Linked DNA regions of Homo sapiens: all the other regions are linked to region 3. The links are contacts of gene promoters, found by promoter capture Hi-C in blood cells and fetal thymus (Javierre and others, 2016). All regions are on one chromosome and are shown on one strand. Each heading gives the region's core, a stretch centred on a gene start or on the middle of the fragment in contact. The rest is flanking DNA. Distances are from core to core; before and after follow the strand shown. Region 1 has its middle 4.1 kb from the start of GPR45. Region 2 holds the start of LOC124908045. Region 3 holds the start of MRPS9 (mitochondrial ribosomal protein S9).

Region 1 (3,951 bases), core at 973-3,472, 200 kb after region 3:
TCTTCATCTGTAAAGAGGAGTCAATGTGAGGGTTAATTGAGAGAAACCATGTCAGTAGTTCCTACAACTGAGAACGTTTACCCTGGATGACTTATTAAAATGCAGTTTGCGCCCCCTGGCGTCCCAGGGTTTCTAATTCAGTGGGTCTGGAGTGGCCCTGAGAATTTTCCTTTCTCAAGTTCCTAGGCGATGCGGATGCCGAAGACGCAGGGGCCGAGCTTCCTGACCACTGAGCTATGTAAGGGGCTTAGCCTGGCATGCTATCAGCACACGAGAAATGTTAGCCATTACTAAGAAGAATAGGCAATGAAGATTTGCCTCATTAAAAGACTTCCCAGTTGTGTTCTACTTGAAAATTTCTCCCCAAGAATCTTGTTCAAGTCGAGGAATAAAAAATCTGGTTCCTTTCAGCTCACTTTTCTTTGAAGTTAAGACACGTGGCACGACACCTGTTTCTAAACACAGCTACTTGATGTATTACTTTTGGCAGCTCTTGCATATTTTTTCATCGCCAATAAAGTTATTGAAATTGAAATATACCATCTGTTTGAGAGTTTGTATCAAAAAGACAGGTGACAAGGTTGCAGGTAATGACAGAGTCAAGCTGTTCCCACAGCAAAGGGCTGTTCCTAGCTTCCCCGTCTGCCAAAATTGACTTCATTTCTTAGATTTGACATTTTTGAACCAATATGTTCTTCTGGAGCAGGGATTAAAAATCCAATATCACAAAACCAATTGGTTTTACCTGCAGCAATATTAAAGACTATGGAGAAAGAGCCCAACAAATTTCCCACCATTTGGCTGAAATAGAACCAGCAGAGAGAAAGCAAATTCTATCAGATGTACATATATATGTAAATGCATATATATATATATAATTCAAAATCTGATAATTAAAATGTAGATGTACCTGTGTGTAGTGTGTACCTGACTTTTTTCTTAATGTTTGTGAAAAACAGTTCCAAAAGAACTGCGCCTACTCCCACTGCGCATATGAGCGCTTCCTTCGCGGATCAGGGGTTGGCAGCCTTACACCAGGAACGCACCTGGGCGCAGCCTCGATCCCACAGGGTCCAGGTGCAGAGGCACCGGGATGCACGCAACACCTTTCGACGCAGAGCTGGGGAAGGGGCCAATAGGAATGGATGCTCCGACAGACGAAGCCACGTGGGAACAAGGACGAGCCCAGGGCAGCTTTTGCTGGAGGTACAGGGGCAGTGTCACAGGGGGCAAGTGGAGTTGCTGGGGAGGATACGATAGCATGTGGGATTTGAAGGTGGGGAAGATTCCGTTATTTTCCTGAACACCTAACAGTGATGCTGCAGGCTTTCTGGACGGGACGGGACCTCAGACACAATAATCCATTCCGCCGTCGCCACGCAGTGCCTTTCGACCATTCAGTTTCAGCGCTGGGAGGAAGGAGAGGCGTGCGCTCTTGCTGAAGGTCGCGCGGGGCTCACCGACCGGTTGCCAGGAAGTCTACCTCCTCCACGTGGCAATCGCCGCTGCTGCTCGGCTCCCTGCCACGGGGCTGCCCCGACTGTGCCTCCGCAGGTCTCTCTGGTTCTGCCCGCCTTTGTCCCCTCGCAAGGCATTATCCCTCCCCGCTTCAATCAGGGTCCGGCGGATCGTCTTCACGCCTGATCTTGAGGATGGGAAAGGGAGACAGGATCGTCTTCACGCCTGATCTTGAGGATGGGAAAGGGAGACAGGCATTTCTTACCTTCTCCTTCCTGACCACTTAAAGCCAAACATATTCCCAGCCGAAGATGAGAGTTGCTACCTGAAACGCCAAGTTTGCGAGCAGAAGGCCACTCGAATCCCCGCTTGACCAGGCCTTAGGAGGACGGTAGAGTCCTGGAGAGCTGCCCTGGCGCCGCTGCAGGGACCTCCGCTGTGTCCCCCAGTCCCTCAAAGCTCTCCTGGGCCGCATTTTCCCCTCTCATGTCTGTCTCACGAGGCCACTCACAGCCTGGCCTCCTCTCCCCAAGAAAACCTGGCAGGATCTCCCTACTGCACTGGAAACAAAAGCCTGGACGGGAGGTGTATGTGGACCAGGAAGTGCCAGCTTAAATGGAAGGAAACGGAGGGAACACAGCTCAAAAGCGTAGCCAAGTGGTGCTTTGCTATACTATGTTATCTCTTTTTGCATGTTTGAAATTTAACATAATAAAAAGACTTTTAAAGTTGGCAAAAGAAAAAGGGGAAGAGAACAAAGAAAGATAAAAGAAAGAAATGAGAGAGAAAAAGAAGGAAGGAAAAAAGAGAGAAGTAAGGAAGGAAAAAAGGAAGGAAGGAAGGAAGGAAGGGAGGGAGGCAGGAATGGAGGGAGGGAGGCAGGAAGGGAGGGAGGGAGGGAGGAAGAAAGGCTTTGGCAGGCCAGACACTGATACTTCCTAGCCTCCCGAGGCTGCCCCAGCGCGCCCCCTGGTGGTCGCACATAGAGTTGTCCTATTTGGAGAGCAAAGACAAAGGTTCTTTCCCTCATCCTCACTAAGTTCTTTTTTTTTTTTTTTTTTTTTTTTTTTTTTTTTTTTTGAGACGGAGTCTCGCTCCGTCGCCCAGGCTGGAGTGCGGTGGCGCGATCTCGGCTCACTGCAAGCTCCGCCTCCCAGGTTCACGCCATTCTCCTGCCTCAGCCTCCCGAGTAGCTGGGACTACAGGCGCCGGCCACCACGGCTGGCTAATTTTTTGTATTTTTAGTACAGGCGGGGTTTCACCATGTTAGCCAGGATGGTCTCGATCTCCTGACCTCGTGATCCGCCTGCCTCGGCCTCCCAACATGTTGGGATTACAGGCGTGAGCCACCGCGCCCCGCTGAAGGTCAGTTTTTAGAAGCCCATTCTTTATCTACTGGGAAAGGAGAACAGAGTGGGATTTTGTTTGAAATTTGTCTGTACCTCAACTGGTGTAGCTTGGGGGTGGGAGGATGGTTTTTCTTTTCCCTATGCTTGTCAGTGTCACAGACGTGAAGTCATCCTCCCCAAGCCACCGTCCTCACCACAGAACCATCTTTCTGTTGGAGTCTCAGCTTCCAGTCTCGGCTCCACTGGTCACTACTTTGCTGAACTGGGGCTTGTCGTGACTGTATCTGAGCTTCCCTTTCATAATTTCCCTGCCTTCTTGCCAGGCGTGAGGATGCAGAGGGAAGGCTTTAGAAAACCTTGCAGTAAACACAATGCATGGGTGGCCTCGTGTCCGCTTTGCTGAAAGCGCCTTCTATCTTTTGCGTGGACACAGCTCACTGAAGCCTCTGCCAGAGCACAGCTAGCCACACCATGGCACACAGCAGCACACAGCCTGGTCACACTTTCCTTAGTTGATTAATCACACTTCAGTCAGAGATGAAGATTTACCTCCTGACACTTGCACAGCCTCCCAGTTCCAGGGTGAGATCATTTGGAAAGGAACTAAAACAAATACCTTGAAACGGTTCAGTTCCCAGCTCGCTTCTTTCACAGCTTTAAATTCATATTGTGGCACCCATTTCTCATCGTGAAAGTCGCTGGAGACGGTGAGTGCTGTTACTCCAAGAACACCAGCAGAATATTTCTTGTTCACTTGTTACCTTTTACTTAGATCTTAGTGCCCTAGTCCCTTGTAATAAAAGCACTGTTGATTCAGATATTAACAACAGGACTGTGACCAAAATGCTAAATTAAAATACCTAAGACAGGTTGTTGTCCAGAAGCCAAAAGAATTTTAATCAGATTCAACCACAAGACATATACATTAAAAAAAATACCTTGCACTATTTGTTCCTTTAATTAAGCATGAAATCACTCTCTGTAACTATCATTGTGGGGAAAATCTAAGTTTATAGCATGGAGAGGAATGCAGATGAAGGATTCACTATCGGCTAAGATTGACAGGCACATGGATGCACGATACTGTGTTTTTTCTCAGTGGTCCTTTATTCTGTGCTCCAAGAGGAGCTTAATCCATTAGGGC
Region 2 (3,717 bases), core at 10-2,509, 170 kb before region 3:
CACTAGACATGATTACATAGGACAAAAAGAATGATCACTGCTGCCCATGTTTCTTTATTGTAGCTACAAAATAATGGAATGGACATTGAGATGGAAGCAAAAACTTTTTAAATTTTTTTTCTTTTAAAGAAAAGGGACAAGAGGTGTTCTGATGAGCTTCCTGGGAGACCACACATTAGCTCTGTCCTGCAGGACTGCCTCTCCGCATAAGGCAAGCCCATTAAGTCGGCTGGAACATTGCACACTGAAATAGAATAGATGTTCATTTCAAAGAATTTTCCTTGAGCCAGCAATAAAATAAAAGGTGACAAAACCCACCACGCTCATTGTACCCAGGTTTAGACAGGGAAACTTCCAGGTGTGAGGGGGGCTAGCCAGATTTGTTCCTTTCTGCCCCTATCAAGGTCTCAGAAGGAGGGTGAGTCTGTGTTTCACTTACATTTCCAAGGTTGAAAACTCTCCTGCAGAGTTAAAAATAAATTAAATAGGTCTAATCAGAAAGCACAGTATCACCCAGAAACTAACCAAATGAAATGTCTTAGTAGCTTGGTCTTGAGAATCTTTAGGTGACAATGGTGAAAAAGCCATCACAGAACAAAACAACATCTACAAACTATTTTAAATTACCATTTCATGGGGAGAAATCTTTCAAATTTCAAAATCGCTCAGGCAAGTCTACTGATTCTACTTTGTACGCCTTAAAGACTTATGCCAAGCACAGCTTTAAAAACGTTTCACTCCTGAAAGAAGGTCTTTAACTCTTCCAATAACTATTTAATAGTTGTCCTGAATGTTTTTAACAAGAGACGGGTATTAAGTGAGTGGCCTTGAGTCCCAAGCAGTCTGGGGGAATAGAAGTGGTGGACACTCAAAGGCACGGAGCAGCCTGCACCTGAAACGGGCTTTCTGCTTTTCGGTGAGGAGGGGCGGCCGAGGTCAGCAGTATTTACATATGTACCTGATCCCACGGGCTTTCCTCTATTTATCAAAGAGGAGGGCCTGCAGGTGAAGGGGTGGAAGTGAGGGGAGAGAAAGACCAAAAGAGAGATCAGTTACCTTTCCCCTTTGTTCCTGGGCCTTGAACTGGGGCTTCAAGGAGGGGAATAAAAGCCCCCAGGGAATGAAGCTTCCACCTCCATTTGCATCATCCTGACACCCCCGCCAGAAAACCAAGTGCTGGCTGAGTTGGGGCAAAATGGTAACTTGAGGAATCCCAGTGTGAGTGTGTTACATAACATACAGAATCCTCTGTGGGGAGAAGTGCACTCACTTGATTTTCTCCAAATGACTGTGTGCAGGCGGAAAGCCCTAGAAAGGAGGATTGAAGACCAGTTAAATAGGAAGACTGTGGGGAAATGGGGAAACGTGTAGCCATATATGACAGGGCACATGTAAGCTTGTGTGCAGGTAAAGTCATACCTGCACCATCTGTGTGCCAGAGCATCCTTCAGAGATCCTGCCTAGAGCTGCACGTTGGCTAAGCAGGAGTCCATACTTTACAATGGTGGTATGGTGGGGGCAGTGGTACCCAAGACTACTGGGACCTGGCTGCCCTGTGGGGTAGTAGGAGCCAGGTTAGTTCACAACTGTGTCATCCTCAACCAGCTCTTTTTTGTCAGAACCCTCAAATCCTTAGCCTGGGTGGGCAGATTACCCCCTCCTCTGTGCGCCCTGCTGTGCCCACCGCAGTCGCCCTGCGGTGGCAGGAGAGCTACTCATTCAGCAGTAGCAGCATTGCGCCGCTGCAGCATCCCGAGGTCACATTCAGAAAGCCCGTTCTTCCAGGACAGCATCGCCCCAATACTGCAGGCGGGGCGAACCGTGTTTATCTGCCCCAGGCACGGAGGGGAGATTGTAACCAAAGGAAAAGAATCTCGCAGAAGGGGATCTGGAAGAGGGCAGTTGATCCTGGGCAGATCCCCTGCGCCGGGCCCTCTCCGCTGGGGGCGAGCCCGGAGGGAACCGAGGGGCCCGGGAGGGGGAGCTGCTGAAGGCGCGCAGGCTGACAAAGCTATAACAAAGGCTCCCTACAAAACTAGTACTAAGGATCTTTAAAGGATCACACACCTTGCAGGCGTGTCCCCAGCTCCCGGGACGCAGAGCCCGCTGACTGTTCCCCCGGGCTCCGCAGACGTGCCCGGGTTGTCAGAGGTGTGGGGCTGGAAGTCCAGCGTCTCGGCCTCTGCCCCTGCGCTCCCACAGGCCTGAGCGGGTAGGGGTAGGTGCCCGCGCCTGGGCCCGCGGGGCTTTGGTCATGGCTGTTCCCCGGGAGGCTCAGTTAGGCAGCAGCCTTGCTGGGCAACAGGCCCCGCCCTTGGTTAATCCGGGAAGGTCGCGGGCTGCAATCTGGCCTGACGAGGCAGGCCCTGAAGTCTCCCCGCTGGGCGATCAGAAGAGCGTTCGAGAAGCCGGGAGCTGGTGGGGTTGGCAGGGCGTCTGAGTCACCCGAGCTGCAGAACGGACGCCCCCACGACGCGCTGTGGGCACTCACAGCGGCTAGTTGGGCATTTCCCAGCAGCCAAGGCTGCGCACTCCGCCCCCGCTGAGGTCCCCTTTGGTTCCCGAGGACCCAGCTCCTCCCGCCCCTCTACTCGGCGCCCCCTGCCACCATAGAACTCTGGGGTAACCCTGGGCCCCGACCTCCAGCTGGTGGGTAGGAATTGTTGGGAAAGGATTGGCGCCCCAGCACCGGGAGACTGGAAGAGTTGAAATCAACGCAGGAGAACAATTAGGAAAAAGTAAGAAAAAAATCACCCGGATGACCTCCAACTTCACCCCCACACCCCCATGGGGTTCTGAAGGCTCCGGCGCAGCTCCTACAGGCGTCTAGGAGTTGGTGGGAGAGGCGCTGCTCTGGCACCTCGCGGTCTCAGGAGTGGGGCTCAGCGCAGAGCGGGCGGCAGTGAGGAGCTCAGGGCCCGAGTTCAGGGCTAGGAGCAGGTGCAAGAACAGTGCAGCAGTGCAAGCATCAGGCAGCAGTGTTTCTCCTCCGCCGACAAAGTGGGTGGTGAGAACACAACTCTGGGAAAGGGGTAGGCGTGGATGTAAAATATAGTCAGTGACTGTTCCCCTACTTCTTGGTGTCCCCTTTCTTGAACTCAACTCAGGAGAAGCTCAGAAGCATCGCTGCAGACCTCCAACTTCCAGCTGTGGTCACCCACCGGCCAAGCCTCCCAGAGCCCAGGTCTGCCAAAGTTGGTCCAAGCCCTCAGGCCAGACCTCCAGACACCTTCTCTATCCACCCCGCACCCCTGCTGGACTGGGGTGGGCTAGGGCTTCCACTTCCCAAATGGCTGCTGCCTTGGGGCCTGCTCTGAAATTCCAGCTGGCGGGTCTGGTTTGGGCAGAGGAGGGGGAGGCAATGAGTGACACAAGCCCCCACCCCTGGTTACAAACAGTGCAAATGAGATGCATTTAGGCTGATCACGCTACTGTATTTTATGCAACTGAATGTGTCTATGTCTTGTCAACTCTTCTAGTCAGGAAGAATAGCAGAAAAAAATCTTCAAAGATTTTCTATGTGTGTGTGGTTTCCAACTATAATTCCATATAGGACAGTGGGGTGAGGGTGGGGCAGGGAGACTTGCTGACGTGAACAACATTACATAAACCCTCCAAAAATGCAATCTTAAGCCACAAAGAAAGAACTGAAAACAGGTGGGGATGGTGGTGGTATTACCTTAGACACCTAGGGGTTCAAAAACCTCAGTGGAATGA
Region 3 (4,313 bases), core at 316-2,815:
CAAACACATTTAAGAAATACATTGGTTTGGTCCAGAAAGACCTGGGACTGATAGAAAGGGAATGTTCAGTTTAAGATAAAGATTGTGGAGACCAAAGTTCTCTGTAAGTCTTACAGTGGCTGCCCTTAGAGACAATGGATGACAAATGTTTCCTATTCAGATCTTAGTTAATCTCTTTAGGATTGGGAGGGTCTGGAAGAAAAAGATCTAGCTATGTTAATACAGATTCTTTACAGATGCATATCCCACCCCTCCAAGGACAGCTTTGCAGGGCCATTTCAAGATATGGCAAAGAAACATGTTTTGGGGTAAAATATTTTGATTTTCTTCCTTGTCTTGTAATGTTATGCCAGAGTCAGGTTGGAAAGTAAGTCACCATATATAGGGTTAAGTAAAACCCATCTAATAAGAATTTATGATTTGTAGGGCATGACTCCCCAAATCCTGTAGATAGGAATCTTGGGCAAGATAAAAAAATCAGAGTTTAGTCCTCCGACCTCTGCCAATTTCTCAAGATATCTTTTGCTAGTCTAAAAGCTAATAACAAAAAGAACAACAGGATGAGCATTTTATACAAGTAAATGTATTCCATTTAAAAGATTTTTCTTTATTGTGAAATTCTGCCATTCTACCTTTTTAATGCTAAAAAGTTCTGTTTCGTGAAATGATGGTGATAGTAGACGGCATTTATTTGCTTGACAACTTTGTATGATCTCAGATTTTCTGTGTGTTTTACTTTTACTGACCCTTCAAATCTAAGTGTGTGTAAACCCTTTTAAAGTGCGTTACTACATCATTTAGTATGTGTTTCGTAGAAAGCAACCTGGGAGTTAACTGCCAGGAGCACGCAAGTTTCAGAAAGCAAGACATACTCATCTCTATTCAACAATTAATCAGTTCTGATTGGGTTTCAAGTAAGGCTTAGTACCAACGCTTAGGGAGGGGCGTGCAAAAACGAGAAAGGTAGTGTTTGACCTTACCGGTTTAAGGTTTATCCTGTGCATTATACAGTTAAGAAACAACGCAGGAGAGTGCCAGGGAACCGAGAGGGGCTTGACAGTTGCTGCAGGAGAGTCTTGACTTGGAACCAGACGAACGTGGAAAGTTAGAGGAGGGGAAAACCCCTACTAGGATAAGGCAGACAGGAATCAAGGCTTGGAGCGCATCTGGGGCCCCGGCCGCCCTGCCCAGGTGGAGGAAGAGCCGGCTCGAGGTGCAGCAAGGGGGCTGGGAAGGAAGGGCTGGCTAAAGCGCCACGTGGATGTGAGTGCCAAAGAGACTAGGAGAGCGTGGAAGTGAGTCCCGAAGAGACTGAGTTCAGGACGTGAAGAGAAAGAGGCCGAGAAAAACGACCCACCAGCGATCCTTCTTGAGGTCGACACCGAGCAGGGGTGGAGTCGGATACGCCCCGCGGACACCATGCACCCAATCAGCGACGAGCTGTCGCGGATCGCGGGACACGCCCCCTGATCCAAAGGCCCGAGAAGCTCTTGCACAGGACAGCCTCTGGAACCCCGCGCCATTAGCGCCTGCGCCGTCTCTAGGCCCCGCCCCCTCACCCCTCCGGTCCTGGAGCTCCCACAGCTAACATGGCGGCGCCCTGTGTGTCCTACGGCGGAGCAGTTTCGTACCGGCTTCTTCTCTGGGGTAGGGGTAGCCTCGCCCGGAAGCAAGGCCTCTGGAAAACCGCGGCCCCTGAGTTGCAAACAAATGTCAGATCCCAGGTAAGGCCTGGGAAGACTGGAAGCGGCTTACCTCTGCCGCGCGAGGATGTGGAGCCAGCGCGGACACCTTCCCCCAGCGTCTCGCGTGCCTTCAGGCAGGGACTCTAGGATCTTAGGTATTTAGTGGAGGTCTGAGGTTGGGGGGGAGGAGGTGGGTATTGGCGTGCAGTAGCCGCTCTAGAGGTTGTTACTTGTTTTTTTGCGGGGTGCAGCGAGGGGAACTTACCTGAAGGTAGAAGTGGAGCGACCTCCTCCTTCATTTGGCTGCTGAGCTAAGTAAGGGTCGGTGCCTAGGTCTGTGTTGGGTCCAGTCCTACCCTGCCCTGCTGTCTAGGGAGGAGGAGGGCCGCGCCAGAGAAGAATGATGGGAATTGGATTCCTGCAGGTGCCTGGAAGACAATGGAGAAAGTCACGTTGTGTAGAGGACAGTGACTTTTTGAAAGTGCCTTCAATATGCGCAATTTCTGGCTTCTTAATTTTCCCGAATCCCCCTCTATGGAAAGATGCAGGCCAGAACTTGTACGTTTCGTTTAATCCAGGGAGAAGTGGGGAGTCAACAGCTGGATGGCTGATGATGCCAGTTTACTGACATGCGATCTCAGAGCAGGAAAAAGATTTGAGAGGGAAGAAACGAGTTTAGTATGGGATTATGTTTTTAGGCATCTGGGATTTCCAGTAGGTCTACGGATAGTCAAGTGTATAGCTCAGGAGGAGAACTGATTTCGAAATGCCCTGTTACCTTGTAAATGGTAACTGAGGCCTTGTAAACAAATTAAATTACCTAGGGAGAGTGTACTGAGGAGTAGGCAGAGGGACAGGGCCCTGAAGGACAAATAAGAAATAAGAGGCCTCAAGAGATTGAGAATGAGGGACCAAAGAAGCAGGAGAGAAACCAGCCAGTGTGGTGTCATGGAAAACAGGTGAATGTTTCAAGGAGGGAGAGTGATAACAAGTACCAATTATTGCAGGAAAGTCAAATACCATACTTTAAAAACTATATTTAAAAAAAAAAACATCTTTTTGTATGTTCTTTCCTTTATATTTTAATCTAGATCAACCAGTCCATTCTATCTATTCATGTGGACATTTGTTTTTTTTTTTTTTCTTACTGGAAAATGTGCTAGAAATTTTTATTTTTTCATGCATCTCTTTGAGTATATCTTTGCTACATACGCATGATTATGAGAGGGACTATATCATACAGAGTATTTTTATTGTTGACATTTAATGTATGTATTGGGGGATGGCTAACTTTCTGTCCCTCCTGGTATCTATTCTTCTATGTTTTTTCCATGTTCTTATAATCATGCATAAACATACATGCACAGGTGTACTTTACAAAAAATGGTACCATATTTGATTGCATTTTACTTTCTGCTTTTCTCTTGTACATATGCAGTATATTGTAAAGTAGAAATCCTTCAGGGTCCCCTATTATGTTTTTAAAAGCATTTTTAACTGCTGCATACTATTCCATGATAAGAATATATCAAAGTTAATGTAACAATTGATGGACATTTGCTTTGTTTCTACTTTCTTTGCACTAATAAAGTTTCAGTAAACATCTGGTCTAGTTCTTAAGTACTGGTTTAGTAAAATGGATGAAGAATGATTTCTCCTGTTACTTTAATTTTCATCTCCTTGACCATTCTTGAAACAACCTCTTTCCCCCATATGGCAAATGTTTACTGAGCACTTTACCTGAGCCAGGCACTGTGAAGTAAACAATTTAAAGTCAAACAATTACAAGATAGTATCCACCCTTAGCACTCTTAAGGGATGGTCCTGAAATGGCTGAATCCCCAGATTCCTGAATACTACTACAGCATATATTTTACCACATTAAGTACAGCTCAGATATAACTGAAACACTTAGCTGACCCCCCTTTAGATTCTTATGATTGCATACATATACCTAAAGACATTGATAAAGCTTTTTTTTTTATCGTGGTGCAGAGCTTATCTGTCTTAAACATTAACATTTTTTCACTTCTGCCTCCAACATTAATAGATAGATTTCTCTTGGTAGCCCATGTTTTATAAAATAATAAAAATTTTAATCACTTAATGAGTGACAAAACACTATACCTGGTCTTTTGTTTGTTCCACTTTTAATTTCCTTAATTACAAAATCTCTTCAGAGGTTACAGAAAACTTGAAGGGTGTGGGAGAATAGAATAATAATAAAGTGCATTTCATGCAGAGTATTTTTGCATTTTGTTTATATATGTAAATGTATACTAGGTGGTGATATAAACAGTAAATATTACAATGGGTCACAGTTTAACAAGTTTGAGAAACACTGTTACAATAAGGAAAAAGAAGCGAGTTTTGTTAAGCTATTCCTAGGTTCTCAGTTGAGACCTTCACTAGCAGACTACCTCTTGCATAGCAATCTTGTGGTATGCATGTTTTGTATTAATGCCTCAATACAATTGCAAATGTCTGAGTGTCCCAAATTTGGGGCAGAAGAGGCAGTCTTATGAATGGCCAAACTTTTCAGATTGTATATCCATGAATATCAGGGATCTATGGTGTACTGTGATATTTACAGAGGTAAATACAGAAGAGCACAGAAGTAATATGCCT

Evidence for each region. Contacts are between HindIII fragments. The CHiCAGO score rates a contact against its expected background, and 5 or more counts as called.
Region 1: a fragment that was not itself captured here is called in contact with the fragment with the promoter of MRPS9 in region 3 in 2 of 17 cell types (total B cells and naive B cells); the score reaches 6.3 in total B cells.
Region 2: a fragment that was not itself captured here is called in contact with the fragment with the promoter of MRPS9 in region 3 in 2 of 17 cell types (total B cells and naive B cells); the score reaches 6.1 in total B cells.

Annotation. Positions count from the first base shown.
Region 1 is chr2:105,235,702-105,239,652 of GRCh38, forward strand. No RefSeq gene overlaps it. Among named protein-coding and RNA genes, the nearest start is that of GPR45, 4.1 kb to the right of the region's middle. The HindIII fragment of the contact is 7,123 bases long and covers 1-3,951 here.
Region 2 is chr2:104,865,372-104,869,088 of GRCh38, forward strand. It overlaps LOC124908045, which reads right to left and starts at 1,830. Exons shown (of 2, transcript XM_047446880.1): 1 at 1,057-1,830; 2 at 1-244. It overlaps LINC01159 (long intergenic non-protein coding RNA 1159), which reads right to left. Exons shown (of 2, transcript NR_110373.1): 2 at 126-3,021. It also overlaps a transcript of POU3F3 not described here. RefSeq lists a silencer at 2,180-2,474. The HindIII fragment of the contact is 270 bases long and covers 1,125-1,394 here.
Region 3 is chr2:105,036,504-105,040,816 of GRCh38, forward strand. MRPS9 (mitochondrial ribosomal protein S9) reads left to right here and starts at 1,566. Exons shown (of 11, transcript NM_182640.3): 1 at 1,566-1,724. The coding sequence starts at 1,590. It overlaps MRPS9-AS2 (MRPS9 antisense RNA 2), which reads right to left and starts at 1,993. Exons shown (of 3, transcript NR_110603.1): 1 at 1,951-1,993. RefSeq lists enhancers at 973-1,182, 1,203-1,252, 1,303-1,352, 1,523-1,852, 1,606-2,548. The HindIII fragment of the contact is 6,591 bases long and covers 1-3,655 here.